2 separate regions of the Homo sapiens genome follow, and region 2 is linked to region 1. The links are contacts of gene promoters, found by promoter capture Hi-C in human tissues and cell types (Jung and others, 2019). All regions are on one chromosome and are shown on one strand. The core of a region is centred on a gene start or on the middle of the fragment in contact, and the rest is flanking DNA. Distances in the headings are between cores, read along the strand shown.

Region 1 (7,688 bases), core at 3,097-5,596:
CAATTTCAAGCAAAAATTATAAGTAGAACAAAGAGAATTGATAAAATAATGATGATTACCTACTTTTGCATTAAATTCACAGTATATGGTTTCCCTTCAATTACAATTTTGTAGGATGCCTGGCAGGAGAGCACAGTAAAAATACAAAGAAAATGAAAAAAAATGTTAGAAGGGATAACCATCATTTTACATTAATGATAATTGCATTCTAAAACACATTCATTTAATAAAAGGAGAAAAAATAGAATTTAATGCTGATTTATTTTAATGGCATTTGACATTATAATTCTAGATTTCATAATCAAAATAATGAATAAAATAATATATATACTTTATTTGTTTATTTTGAAATGTGTATGTTGATTTTATGACCTGCAACTTTATTGAATTCTGTTTGATCTAAGAGATTTATGGTGGAGTCTGGGGTTTTCTATATATGGGATCATGTCATGTGCTAATAAAGATATTTGACTTCCTTCTGATTTTGGATGCTGTTTATATCTTTACCTCTGCCCTTGATAGTTAGTACTATCAGTACTATGTTGAGAGTGGGAATCCTTGTCTTGTACCACATCTTAAAGGAAAACCTCACGCCTATTATCCCAGCACTTTGGGAAGCCAAGGCAGGCGGATCATGAGGTCAAGATTTTGAGACCAGCCTGACCAACATGGTGAAACCCCATCTCTACTAAAAGATGCAAAAAATTAGCCGGGCATGGGGCGGTTGCCTGTAATCCCAGATACTGGGGAGGCCGAGACAGGAGAATCACTTGAACCTTGGGAGGCGGAGGTTGCAGTGAGCCAAGATCACACCATTGCCCTCCAGCCTGGGCGACAGGGCAAGACTCCATCAAAAAAAAAAAAAAAAAAAAAAAAAGGTTTTAGTCCCTTTCCACTAATTATGATGTTAACTAAGGGTTTTTCATAACTGGCCTTAATTATATTCAGGTACCTTCCTTCTATACCTAAACTGTTAAGAGTTTTTAACCAAGAAAGGATGTTAGACTTTGTGGAATGCTTTTTCTGGGTCTCCTGGTGTCTTCATATCCACATGTGTCTGTGCTCAGATTCCTTGTTCTTGCAAGGACACCAGTCATATGGTATTAGAGCTGTAACTTACTATTAATTACTATTCTAGTAAACTCATTTTAATTTAATTACGTCTTTATAGACTCTGCCTCCAAATATGCTTACGTTCTGAGGCACCAGGGGTTAGGACTTCAACAAATAAACTCTGCTTTGGATTTGGGACACCTGTTCTGAAGATTCGACTTTATAAAGCCATTTCTTATTAAAATATGTTTACTATTACCTCTTCTTCTTTTCTCCCCTATTTCAGGAATGCCAATCACTCTATGCTTAAGCTTCTAATTCTGTCCTTTTCTCTTAGCCTTTCACATGTTGCATTTCATCTTTTCAGCTGTCTCTGTTCTACTCTAAATTCCTGACTTTTATATTTTCATACTGCATTTCCCACTTTTAGAAGTTACATTCAATTATTTTTAAAAATCTAGTAATTTTAGGCCATGTGCGGTGGCTCACGCCTGTAATCCCAGAACTTTGGGAGGCCGAGGCAGGTGGATCAGGAGGTCAGGAGATCGAGACCATCCTGACCAACGGTGAAACCCCGTCTCTACTAAAAATACAAAAAAACTAGCTGGGCTTGGTGGCAGGTGCCTGTAGTCCCAGCTACTCAGGAGGCTGAGGCAGGAGAATGCTGTGAACCTGGGAGGCGGAGCTTGCAGTGAGCCGAGGTTGCGCCACTGCACTCCAGCCTGGGCAACAAGCAAGACTCCGTCTCAAAAAAAAAAAAAAATCTAGTAATTTTAGGTTGAATAATCTTATGGTTTCTAGCCTTTATTAACTGTAATAATTCAAAATATATAGTTTCATATTATGTTTATAGTATTTGTTGAATTAATTAGCATAATAGCCTAGTTTGTTTTAAAAATACTGTTAATTCATTACAGTATTTTAAAAATAAACTAGGCTATTATGCTAATTGTGTATTTAACTCCCTTTAACTCCTTAACTCCCATTAACTCCCTAAGCAACTGACGGTCAACAATTATCCCTTGCACTATTTTTTTGTTGGTGGTGGTGCTTTGTTTTGGTTTTGGTAACCACAAAATCAAAAAGGAACTTTTTGATGACCAGCTATTCCAAGTTTCTCATTTACAAATGAGAAAATAATGAGCCTGATTAGTGCACAAAAGCATAAATACACATAGCATTTGTATCTGACACTGTTCTAGGCAAGAAGAATACAGACATTAACAAAATAGACAATTTTTTCCTCATGAATTTGACAGTTGAAAATGGGCATTTTTTTTTACTTATTGCAAATAACTATCTTATAACAATCAAGTTATTCTTGTTTGAAATACTTCTCTCCAAATAGATTCTCTGCTTATTTTCTACTATTATTAACATCTCCATAATAATTTTACATTAAAAATGTTTCATAAAATATTGTTAAAAGCCTCACTGCTTTTTTCTATTTAAATGATTTGTTTTAGTAATAGATATATAGATATGCATTCCTTTAAAAATGATTTAAATAACATCTTAAGCTATAATGTCTGTATTAGGATGACAAATGGATATATGCTAAGGAAATGTTTGCATTTAAATTACCAGAACATCTGCTACCAAACCAAAAAAAAAAAATTGATGTCTCAAGAAACCACATTCCACTTCAGAAATGGATTCTAGAACTTAGTGAAAATGATAAGAAGATTTTAAATTCAAATTTTAAAAAGAGAGTAATAATTCTGAACTAAAATAATCTAAAATAGCATGAAAGAAAGAGTTCTAATCATTAACATATTCGCAATCAGGGCTAAAAAAATCATTAATATAACACATCATTAATTCAAGTGATCATCATCCCATATAAGCAAGCCAAGGCTTACTTAGCAACAATGACAAAAAATTCCTCCAAATACAGCCTGAACGGTGAGTGAGAACAGAATCTCTAGAACAATCAAGCCAATGATTATTCAAAGACATCCAAGAGGAAGACAGATTCAGAAAATGGACTTGGGGCTTTGATAACCAGCATCACTGCACCATTATTTCTGTGAAACATTGTTGATCCTGGTTCATTTTCAAAAGGGCTTTTCCATTCAGGGAAAATTTGGTATAAATATAAAATTCAACAGGTGTGCATGAATGAAAAATGGCAGATTAACTTCTTAGAAACAAAATCTTTACATCATTTTAAATTTGTAAATACTGTTAGTGATTCATTACCTGCGATTCAATTCCTTCCTTTATTATTGACCGTATTTTCTCCGGAACTGTAATTTGCACAGGTAAACTATCAAAATCTGCAAAATGTGCAAAATGTTTTATTAGAACAATGCCCATCATTTCAGAGCGTGTTTTATGAGTTTTTCATCTAAATCTCTAATCTCTATTCTATACGCTGCTTCTCATTTTTATTATCTTCCCATTTCTTTCTAAAAATACAAGGAGGTTTTTTTTTCTGTTTTTCTGTTTTTTTTTTTGTTTTTGAGACGAAGTCTCACTCTGTCGCCCAGGCCCAGGCTGGAGTGCAGTGGTGAGATCTCTGCTCACTGCAACCTCCGCCTCCCGGTTTCAAGCGATTCCCCTGCCTCAGCCTCCCCAGCAGCTGGGACTACAGGCACGCACTACCACCCCCAGCTAATTTTCTATATTTTTAGTAGAGGGGGATTTCACCATGTTGGCCGGGATGGTCTCGATCTCCTGACCTCGTGATACGCCTTCCTCAGCCTCCCAAAGTGCTGGGATTACAGGCATGAGCCACCGTGCCCGGCCATATTTTTTTAAAAAAGAAGTAGGTGTATTGCTTTAGGAGTATTGCCCTGTAGGTAGGATCTGGTAACCTTGGGTCAATAGGTTCAAGCCCCTCAGGACAAATTAACTCACTCTGGACTCTTCAACTAGAGAGTACAGAAGTTGGGTCTCAACTTTCACTGTCGTGAAAAATGCAAAGCAGGATCTGAAACTACAATTTTGAAGCAACCTCTTAAGGCCTAGGACCTCCTATCTTATCTTTCCTAGGTTTCCAGGACGTGTGGGAAAGCCCTTATTCTACGTGGATTTTGGGTGGGGAAGGCGGCAATGTCGGGGATGAGCTTGGAATTGCTGAGTTGGAAACCCCTCAGGAAAGCATCCTCCCAGGGATGTCAATGTAACTTGGAGGCAAAGGGAGAGTAGCGCTGAGGGTCCCAAAAGGCCAGAGGAGGGGTTTTTCTGCTTACTACTGTCCATCCGCAGCCCGCCGAGCCCGCTGAGCAGAAACAAGACGCGCCACATGGCTTGAAGTCCTGGGTCCCAGCCGGAATAATGGCAGTTGGTGGTTACAGGGCAGTTGGAAGCGCGAGATGACGCCCCGGCCACGCAGCCTGGAAGAGGTAGGCGGCTGGGAGAGCCCAGGTGGGCTGAGGTTGGGTGTGGTGCGCTGTGGAACGTGCGAGCTCCTGAGCCCTGTCTCTTGCAGGACAAGCACTCCACTGGACGTGATGCCTAATTAAGGCAACAGCAACAACAAAATCACTTCCAACAGCTGAGGAACAGGAAGATTTATAAACACTTCTTAAGTAAAATTTCAATTGAATATATATAAACACGTATCAGGAGTTCGAGACCAGTTTCCGCAACATGGTGAAACCCCGTCTGTACTAAAAATACAAAAAAAAATTAGCCAGGCATGGTGGCGGGTGCCTGAAATCCCAGCTACTCGGGAAGCTGAGGCAGGAGAATCGCTTGAACCTAGGAGGCAGAGGTTGCAGTGAGCAGAAAGACCTTACCACTGCACTCCAGCCTGGGTGAGAGAGCGAAATTCCGTCAAAAAAAAAAAAAAAAAAAAAAAAAAGAACGAAACAAAAAACGAAAAAAAGTATATAATAAATCATAAGTTCACAGGTCAATTAATATTCAAGTGGAAAAAAAAAACAGCGTAACTAGTACCACGATGAAGAAATGAAAAAGAACCACCCAAATCCCCAGATTCCAACCTCACAACCATGACTTCTAAACAACCAAAGATTCGTTTTGTCTGTTTTTGAACTTTTCGCAAGTAGAAGCAATCACCATCTACTCTTTCATGTCTGGGTTCTTTTAATAGGATGATTGTAAGGTTCATACAAAGCAATAGTTCTGTTTTATCCTCATTGGTGTATATTACAAATTCATTAAATATAACACCACTTGTGTTTCCATTTTACTGTTAATGAATATTTTGTTTGTTTATTGTTCCAGCTATTAAAAATAATATTTAGCTATAAACATTCTTCTACATGCCTTTTGGTGTAATAAGTAAGGATTTCTACTGTGTATATTTCTAGAGTGAAGTTGTCGGATCACAGGGTATGTGTTGGTAGATACTTCCGACAAGTTTTCCAAGACTGTACTAATTTATACTCTCACCAGAAGTATATGAAAATTCCACTTCGTACACATCAATGCCTTGTTGTGTTGTTGTGTTGTCTGTAATGTTCCTTCATTGTAATGAACTTACCAACTTTTATATCAAGACATGCTGCCCTCATAAAAGAAATTAAGAAATGTTATCTCTTCGTTTAATCTTTGAAATAGTGTAATGCTGTGAATATTTATTCTTTTAATGTTTCTTAGCATTTAGAAATGGAGTGATTATGACCTGGAGTTTTCTTCATGAGAAGATTTATTTACTTTTTTATCTAATTTCTTTAAAATATTCATATTTTTTTCTTTTCGTGTTGGTTTGAGAAAGTTATGTTTCTGAAGGAATTTGTCCATTTCTTTGGGGTTGTTAAATTATTGACAAAAGTTGTTCATAATGACTTCCTCTCCTCTAGCAACTTTTTAAGGTCTATAGCACCTGCAGACATATCTCTTCTTCCATTCTCAATGTTGATAATTTGTGATGTTTCTCTTTATACTGGGTAAATAGGTCTTGGAATGTATAATTTTTATTAAGTTTTACAGGAACTCGGTTTTGGATTTCTTTATTTTTTTCTGTTGTATGTTTTCTGCTTTGTTGATTTTGTTCTTGGGTTCTTTTCCTTTTTTCTACTTTGGGCATAATGTTCCTTTTCTAGCTTCTAAGATTGGAAGTTTATATTATTTATTTTAAACATTTCTTCTTTTAACCTATGCCTTTAAACTACAAATTTCCATGTATTTCCAAATTTCTATCTATTCATTGCTTTAACTTCACCATTGTATTCTTATACTTTATTTTGATATACTTTACTTTCATTAATATTCAATTCTAAATGTTTTCTAATTTTCATCATGATTTCTTTTTGCCCCACATGTTTATTGGTGTTATTTAAATGCCACATATTTAAGCATGTATTAATTACTTTTTTATTGATGTCTAACTCAATTCCATTGTGATCATAGATTGTATTTTGAATAATTTCAAGTCATTGCAATTCACTAAGAGAAAATTCATTGCCCATTATATGGTTCATTACATTGAATGTTTCGAACTTTAAAAGAATGCAAACTTTAAAAGAATGCAGACTATTTAGCTGTGGATTATATTATTCTTTAAATGTCAACTAGATCAAGTTGGATAATACATTTTCAAATATTTTATATCCTTATTAATTCTTGTTCTTTTATTATGTCCAACTAAGAATACTTTTCTATTTTTCCTTTGTGTTTTATCAATTTTTAATTATCATATTTTGAAGATAAGTTATTTTTTTAAAACTCATTTAGGGAGGTTTTGTCTTCCTGATGAAGTGAACTTATGTCATTATAATGTCACTCTTTGCCCATACTGGCTTTTTGCCATTAAGCTTATTTTATCTATCACTTCCATAGCCAGATTTTTAAAAAAATAATTAGAATCTGCTTGGGATATTTTAAAAAAATATTTCACTTTAAAGGCATATCCTTAAAGTTTGTGTGTGTGTGTTTGTGTATAAATAACATACAGATTTTTAAATTCAGTATGATGAACCTGACTTTAATTGAAGTATTAGGTCCATTTCCTTACAGTAATTACAGACATGTTAAGTTTATGTCTCTCACCTGCTAGCAGTTTTCTATTGTTTTCCTACTAGTTGTCTGGTCTTTTATTTTTACTTTCTTACCTCTTTTGGATAATGGAAGCTGCTTTAAATTTAATTTCACCTGGTCTCGTTAATTTTTGAATATACTATTTGTTCTTTTGGGGGTTTTTAATGTTTAGAGATTATATTATATATCTTCAACATATTGCATTCCACATACCCATAATAAACAAAGTAAGAATATTGCAATAAGATAATTCAATTTAATTTAATTTAATTTTTATAGCCACATATTTTACATATATACATATATGTATAATTAATAGGCTTTTTTAGGGCTGTTCTAGGTTCAGAAAAATACCCAGTGGAAAACTGGGGTTAAGGTCACATATCCTTAACCCCACATGCACAGCATCTCCCACTGTCAACATCCTATATCAGTAAGGTACATTTGTTAAAATCCGTGAACATTGTACACATGGATACATCCTTAACAACCAAATCCATAGCTTACATTAGGGGTGACTCTTTGTGTTGTGCATTCTATGAGTTTTGACAAGTGTAATGATGTGCATCTATCATTATAGTGCCAATCAAAATTGTTTTCTTGCTGTGCTCCAATTATGCATCCCTCTCTTCTCTCTGAGCACTGATTTTTTTTACTGTTTCCATAATTTAGCCTCTTTCAGA
Region 2 (7,688 bases), core at 2,300-4,799, 37 kb after region 1:
ATGATGCCATAGAACAGCTTAGAGGAGTGTGCATTAGAGCTTGGGAAAAAAAGTCACTTCAGGTGCAGAACAATACCCTTCCTTTAGTGCTGTAAAACAGGGACTGAAAGAACCGTATGTGGATTTTATAGCTTGGTTACAGGAGTCTCTTAAAAAGGTAATTACAGATTCGGCTGCACAGGATATAGTGTTTCGGTTATTAGCTTTTGACAATGCTAATCCTGATTGCCAGGCTACTCTGTGACCTATTAAAGGGAAAGAACATTTAGTTCATTATATCAAGGCCTGTGATGGTATCAGAGGTAATCTGCATAAAGCTACTTTGTTGGCACAGGAAATGGCAGGACTGAGAGTGGATAAAGGAAATACTCTGTTTCCTGGAGCTTGTTTTAACTTTGGGAAGCATGGTCATACTAAAAAAGAATGTAGAAAAAATCAGTGAGTCAGGCTGCCAGATATGGAAAAAAAGAAAACTGCTGAGTCTGAAATATGTCCAAAATGTAAAAAAGGAAAACATTGGGCTAATCAGTGTCACTCTAAGTTTGATAAAGATGGGAACCCGATTTCAGGAAATGTCATAAGGGGCCCATCCTGGGCCCCTTTCCAAACCAGGGCATTTCCAGCTCAGGCCATTCCCTCACCCCTGTACAATATCTGTCCCCCACCACAGCTGGTAGTGCTGCAGTAGATTTATGCTGCACAAAAGATGTGAGCCTTCTGCCTGGGAACCCCCGCAGAAGGTTCCAACAGGAGTCTGTGGACCCTTGCCAGCAGGGACGTTAGGATTACTTCTCGGCAGGTCTAATTTAAATTTAAAAGGGGTAAAAATACATACAGGAGTCATTGATTCAGACTACAATGGGGGAAATTGAAATTGTTATATCTACTTCTGTTCTCTGGAAAGCAAAGCCAGGAGAGCGTACAGCACAGCTCCTGATTGTGCCGTATGTGGAAATGGGGAAAAGTGAAATGAAATGAACAGGAGGAGCCAGGCTCGGTGTCTCATGCCTGTAATCCCAGCACTTTGGGAGGCCAAGGTGGGCAGATAACAGGGTCAGGAGATCAACACCATCCTGGCTAACACAGTGAAACCCCGTCTCTACTAAAAAATACAAAAAAAATTAGCTGAGCGTGGTGGCAGGTGCCTGTTATCTCAGCTACTGAGGAGGCTGAGGTAGTAGAATGGTGTGAACCTGGGAGGCGGAGCTTGCAGTCAGTGGAGATTGCCCCACTGCACTGCAGCCTGGGTGACAGAGCAAGACTCCATCTCAAAAACAAACAAACAAACAAAAAAATGAACAGGAGGATTTGTAAGCACAAATACACAAGGTAAAGCAGCTTGTTGGGTGAATCAAATTACTGATAAACATCCTACCTGTGAAATAACTATTCAAGGAAAGAAATTTAAAGGTTTGGTAGATACAGGAGGACATTTCAATCATTTCTGTACAGTAGTGGCCATCCATGTGGCCAATTCAACCCACTCAATTTAACACAGTTGGAGTTGGCAAAGCCCCTGAAATATATCAAAGTAGTTATATTTTGCACTGTGAAGGGCCCGATGGACAACCTGGGACTATTCAACCAATTATAACTTCTGTACCTATAAATTTATGGGGGAGAGATTTGTTACAACAATGGGGAGCACAAGTTCTAATTCCAGAACAATTATACAGCCCTCAAAGTCAACATATGATGCATGAAATGGGATATGTCTGTGGTATGGGACTAGGAAAAAATTTGCAAGGTTTAAAGGAACCACTTCAAGGGGAAAGACAAAGTTCCTGCCAAGGTTTAGGATATCATTTTTGATGATGCCATTGTTAAGTCTCCAGAACCTATATCTTTAAAATGGTTAACAGAAAAGCCAATTTGGATAGAAGAATGACCACAGAGTAAAGAGAAACTGAAGGCTTTAGAGGACTTAAAATTGGCCTTTAATAGTCATAGATTTAAAGACTGTTTCTTTACTATCCCCTTAGCTGAGCAAGACTGTGAAAGGTTTGCGTTTACAATTCCTGCGGTAAATAACCTGCAGCCTGCTAAGAGTTTTCATGTTCCACAGATGGGTCTAGTAAAGGTAAAGCTTCTTATTCTGGCTCAAAAACTAAAGTTTTCCAGATGCCCTATACTGCAGCTCAAAAAGCGGAGCTTGTAGCTGTAATTGAGATATTGATTGCTTTCAATATGCCTATTAAAGTGATTTCTGAGTCTTCATACATGGCTCATTCCACACAGTTAATTGAAAATGCTGTTACGATTTCATACAGATAATCAACTGATGACAAAAACAAAAAAGGGGGAGAAACAGGGATTAAGGGGCAGTTCACACACAATTGAATCTAGCATTATTAACTTTAAATTTTTTGAGCCTGCCCAAAGGCCAGATGTTATCAGCAGCTTAACAGCATCTACAGAAACCAGCTGCAAAGACAGAAGCAAAACAATTGGTTTGGTGGACAGATCTGATAACAAAAAGTTGGGAAATAGATAAAATAATAACTTAGGGTAGAGGTTATGCTTGTGTTTCTCCAGGCCAAAATCAACAGCCAATTTGGATACCATCAAGACATCTGAAAACTTATCATGAGCCAGATGCTGAGGAAGAGATTCCAGGAGCATCCCAAGGACCTCTTGGTTGCAGCCATGTCGAGGCTGATGCTGAGGAGGACCCCAACTGTCATGTGCAACACCCATCGAACACAGCCTCCCACCTGGGGACAGATCAAGAAACTGTCACAGATGGCAGAAGAAAACCTGAGGAAAGTGGGGCAAACAGTCACAATGAGTAATTTAATGGTAGCTATGACACCGGTGATCACCATTGCCATGAGTATTCCTTCAACAAGGGCTGACACAGAGAACAGTTATACTTATTGGGCATATTTATCAATCTTGGCTGGCAATAATGCCTGAATGTAATCACTCCGTGACACAGTTACACATGCTTTCTGGTCTCAGTATTTACCATAATAAATCTGCTCCTATAATTGAGGCATACTGCCCTCAAAAACCTATTTGTAAACAAAATAGAACCTGGCCAGAAATAATGAATGTTCTTGTTTAGGAAGATTGCATTGCAGAACAGGCAGAGGTGCTGTGCAACGATTCCTATGGAATCATTATTGATCGGTCCCCTAAGGGGATGTTTAGCTTAAATTGCACCACTCAGTCTGTGTGCCATGGCCACACTATGTTCAGCTGGTCTGAACAAAATGGTCAGATGGTAGAAATGGAAAGAAGTATGGCAAGAATTCTATTATCTGGAACCATGGCTGTATAGTGACACCTCAACCTCAAATGATATGGCCTGCTCTAGGAGCTTAATGTAAGGATTTGTGGAAACCATTAATAGCTCTTAATAAGATCAAAATTTGGGAAAGAATAAAAAAGCATTTAGAAGGACACTCTACAAACTTGTCTTTGGATATTGCAAAATTAAAGAACAAATATTTAAAACATCCCAGGCACACCTGACCTTAATGCCAGGAACTGGAGTGCTTGAAGGAGCTGCAGACTGATTAGCAGCTAGTAACTGATTAAAATGGATAAAAACACTGGGAAGCTCTGTGATTCCAATAATGATTGTACCTTTAATCTGTGTTGTTTGTCTTTGTATAGTCTGCAGATGCAGATCCTGACTCCTGCAAGAAGTAGCTCACTGTGACAAAGCTGCCTTTGCTTTTATCACTTTGCAAATCAAATAAGGGGGACATGTTGGGAACAGGACCGCCCCCCCCCCCAAAATCTGGCCATTAACTGGCCCTAAAACTGGCCATAAACAAAATCTCTGCAGCACTGTGACATGTTCATGATGGCCATAATGCCCACGCTGGAAGGTTGCGGGTTTACCAGAATGAGGGCAAGGAACACCTGGCCCACCCAGGGCAGAAAACCACTTAAAGGCATTGTTAAACTACAAGCAATAGCATGAGTGATCTGTGCCTTAAGGACATGCTCCTGCTGCAGATAACTAGCCAAAGCCATCCCTTTATTTCGGCCATCCTTTTGTTTCCCATAAGGAATACTTTTAGTTCATCTATATTCCAATCTATAGAAACAATGCTTATCACTGGCTTGCTGTCAATAAATACGTGGGTAAATCTCTGTTCAAGGCTCTCAGCTCTGAAGGCTGTGAGACCCCTGATTTCCCACTCCACATCTCTATATTTCTGTGTGTGTCTTTAATTCCTCTAGTGCCACTGGGTTAGGGTCTCCCTGACCCAGCTGGTCTCGGCATGTTACAGCTCTTAACTGTGGTGCGTCCAGAGTTGTTTGTTCCTCCCAGTGGGTTTGAAGCCACAGATCTTCTCAGTGAGTGTTACAGCTCTTAAAGGTGGCATGTCTGGAGTTGTTTGTTCCTCCTGGTGGGTTTGTGGTCTCGCTGACTTCAGGAGTGAAGCCACAGACCTTCGCAGTGAGTGTTACAGCTCATAAAGGTAGTGTGGACCCAAAGAGTGAGCAGCAGCAAGATTTATGGTGAAGAGTGAAAGAACAAAGCTTCCACAGGATGGAAGGGGACCTGAGAGGGTTGCCACTGCCGGCTTGGGTGGCCAGCTTTTATTCCATTGTTTGGCCCCACCCATATCCTGCTGATTGGTCCATTTTATGGAACACTGATTGGTCCATTTTACAGAGTGCTGATTGGTCCATTTTTACAGAGTGCTGATTGGTGCATTTACAAACCTTTAGCTAGACACAGAGCACTGATTGGTGTGTTTTTACAGAGTGCTGTTTGGTGCATTTATAAACCTTTAGCTAGACACAGAGCACTGATTTGTGTGTTTACAATCCTGTAGCTAGACAAAAAAGTTATCCAAGTCCCCACCCAATCCAGAAGCCCAGCCGACTTCACCTCTCAATCCCCCCTCTAAACAGGACATCCTAACTGCTGTTGGGAATTGGGGGATGACCAGTCTAGCTACTTCCTGCTGGATAGGGGCAAAGAAGGGGCCCTGCAGTTATAGTGTCCTCCAGAGGGGAACTCTTTAGGCCAGTGAAAGGGTCAGTGGGTCAGTCCAAGAGTCCTTGGTGGAAGATGTTAGTTGAGCTCATTTGGCATTCCATTTGTGAGACCATCTGTAGCTTGATGGCCTTGATCCTAGAGGAAACAAATTTGACAAAGAGGCTAAAAATACAGGGCCTGAAGGTGAGTAATAGCAAGATGGCTGCCATGGGACCTAGGAAGGGGAGAAGCCATGTTACCAACCTCAGAAGTTGGTATAAGAATTTGAAAGGTGTTGTCTGATTTCAGAAGCATTTTCCTGTAAATGTTGGGCAGCATCTCATACTATCCCTGACTGGTTAGTGTAAAAACAACACTCTTCCCCTAAGAAGGTGCAGAGTCCTCCTTTCTCAGCAGTGAGGAGGTCTAGGTCTTGGTGATTTGGAGAGTCACTGCTGCCAAAGAGTCTATTTGGGATTGTAGAGTAAGGATAGATTTCGTTATTTCTTGCAAACTGTCTGAGAAATCCTTTGAGAGTGTGTGGTAGTAGGATAATGAAGTAGATAAATCGGCTATTCTGGTTCCTGTAGCAGTAGCCATTCCCAACCCTATAAGTAGAGGTATTAGTTGTATGGCTCTGCACTGATGGACTTGAGCTTTGAGGGGTACCGATAGGGTCTGATTTCCTGGGGCAATGTTAATGTTGGGACTTAGAAAGACTAAGGTGCAGGTGCCTGTCCAGTTAGTGGAGAGGCAGATATAGGTCAACATTCCACATAAGAATATACCTTGGCTGGGTAGACAGAACTGGTTGTGTATGTTAAAAAGGTGTGTGACTTTGTTGTTTTCATTTTCCCATACTCCTAGAGTACTTGCCAAGGTAGCTCTGCTGAGCAGCTGGAAAAGAGTGTTGGGAGTAAACTGAGTGGCTCCCTGTGTTCTATTTTCCCATTGGAGAAAAAACCATTTTGTATCTACTAGGAACCATTAGAGAGAGTGATTGAAAGAGGGGATGAGAAGGCATTCATTAGTGGTGGGGGCCCTGCTGCAAGGGGTCCAGGGGTGAATGTTCAGGCTGGGAGTAAGTTTGCCATTATAAAACCTGGACTGTTCGTTAAGCAGGGAGGAGGTGATGATTTTTGCGGGCCCTGAGAAGTAGACAAGCCATCTGAATGGAGCTCTTTGGGTGACTCAGAAGTTACTATGATCAGTTGGGGCTTGAAGTTGTAGAGTGTAATTACACAGATGGGGTAGTAGGTGCCCCAGGGGCAGACCTGATAACAGGTTGTGTTGGATGCATAAAGGGGCTTGGAAAGTTAAGATCGTATTCATGGTAACAGGGCCGTGTATGGGCTTTTCATTGCTTGTGTAATAGGTGAGGTTGGAAATGTAAGAACATAAAAGTTGGATTGCACATCTTGTTAGGGTATTCTTGGCCCTATCAGAGATGGAGAAGTTGGCTAATGATTGCATATTTAGAAGTCTGAAAGGGTCTTTCCCTTCGTAATGAGGGTGGTAGGTTAAGTTGTTAAAGACCCAATGTTTTGTGGGAATGGGAGTGGCAACGTAAGCAGAGGTTGATAGAGAGACACAAAGACAACAGTCATTTGCCAGGGAAGGATTGGACTGGTTTAACAGAGAGTGGGTTAAGTTGAGAGTCTTGTAGAGGCAATTAGGAGCTAGTGGAAAGGGAGGGGTGATTGTATGAGGTATCCAAGGAAGCAGGAGGTATAGGTAAGCAAAGAGTAAATAGGAAGGTAAAGAGTGTGCTCTGGAAGACGAAATCATTTTATCCAGGCTGAGTTAAAGGTAGGAGTAAATTGCAGTCAGAAGGAAGGAAGATAGAAATAAGGTTGATGTGATTAGGATTTTTGTCCCAGCAGGAACTACAGTATATAGCCCTATCACAAAGAGTATGGTTAGTATGCTGCTTAATAATATAATGAAATAGTAAAAGGATTCCATTAAAGGGGTAAGGAGGGGTGTTAAAGATAAAGATTATGTAGGTTTTCACTTATCTTTTTTAAGGAGGATGGAGTTTTTCTTCAGGATCAGTGGTAGGAGCCTTTTTAGTCTGGGATATTTCCTTCTGAAATAGGAGATGCAAGTCCTCTAATGGTTCTCAGGTTTATCGAGGCTGGTCTGGCTGATCTTGGGACTCCTGAGCTGACAGTCCCACAGGTTCCTCAGGGGGTGTCCAAAATTTAACTCAGGTGTGGTGAATCCAAGATTCCACTCCTGCCACCTTAACTGCAGTGGGGGTAGAGAGGATTACTGAGTATGGTCCTTCCCACAGAGTCCATAGATGGGGAGGTAGAGGGGAGAGATTTGACCTACGCTAGATCTCCTGGTTGAAACAACTCTGTTCCCTTTTCTCTGGACATCCTTCAGAGCTATCCCTGCTCTCTCTGTGACATAGATTTTAAAGGTTTTGTTGATATTTTGAAGAAGTTATATCTTTGACCATGTTGGCCATATTCTGATCAAGTAGGAGGTCATTTGTGAGAAAAGATCATCCATACAGCATTTCATATGGACTGAGCCCATTTTGCAAGGAAAATTTTGGATTCTCAACAAGTCCATGAGGAAAAGAGTAGGCCATGGGAGATGAGTTTCTTGTGTTAGTTTCCTTAAGTGCCTCTTGAGTGTTTCATTGGCCTTCTCAATCTTCCCTGAGGATTGTGGCCTCCAGGTGCAGTGAAGGTGATATTGTATCCCAGCGCCCTGGAAATTCCCTGAGTTA

What was found. The method cuts DNA at HindIII sites, captures the fragments that hold promoters and counts their contacts. A contact is called where the count stands out against the background at its distance.
Region 2: a contact is called between a fragment that was not itself captured here and the fragment with the promoter of ADAM2 in region 1, in 2 of the 25 tissues and cell types used here (aorta and small bowel).

Annotation. Positions count from the first base shown.
Region 1 is chr8:39,833,881-39,841,568 of GRCh38, forward strand. It overlaps ADAM2 (ADAM metallopeptidase domain 2), which reads right to left and starts at 4,347. Exons shown (of 21, transcript NM_001464.5): 1 at 4,251-4,347; 2 at 3,256-3,332; 3 at 64-119. The coding sequence starts at 4,305. The HindIII fragment of the contact is 9,732 bases long and covers 205-7,688 here.
Region 2 is chr8:39,871,768-39,879,455 of GRCh38, forward strand. No RefSeq gene overlaps it. Among named protein-coding and RNA genes, the nearest start is that of ADAM2, 37 kb to the left of the region's middle. The HindIII fragment of the contact is 5,127 bases long and covers 987-6,113 here.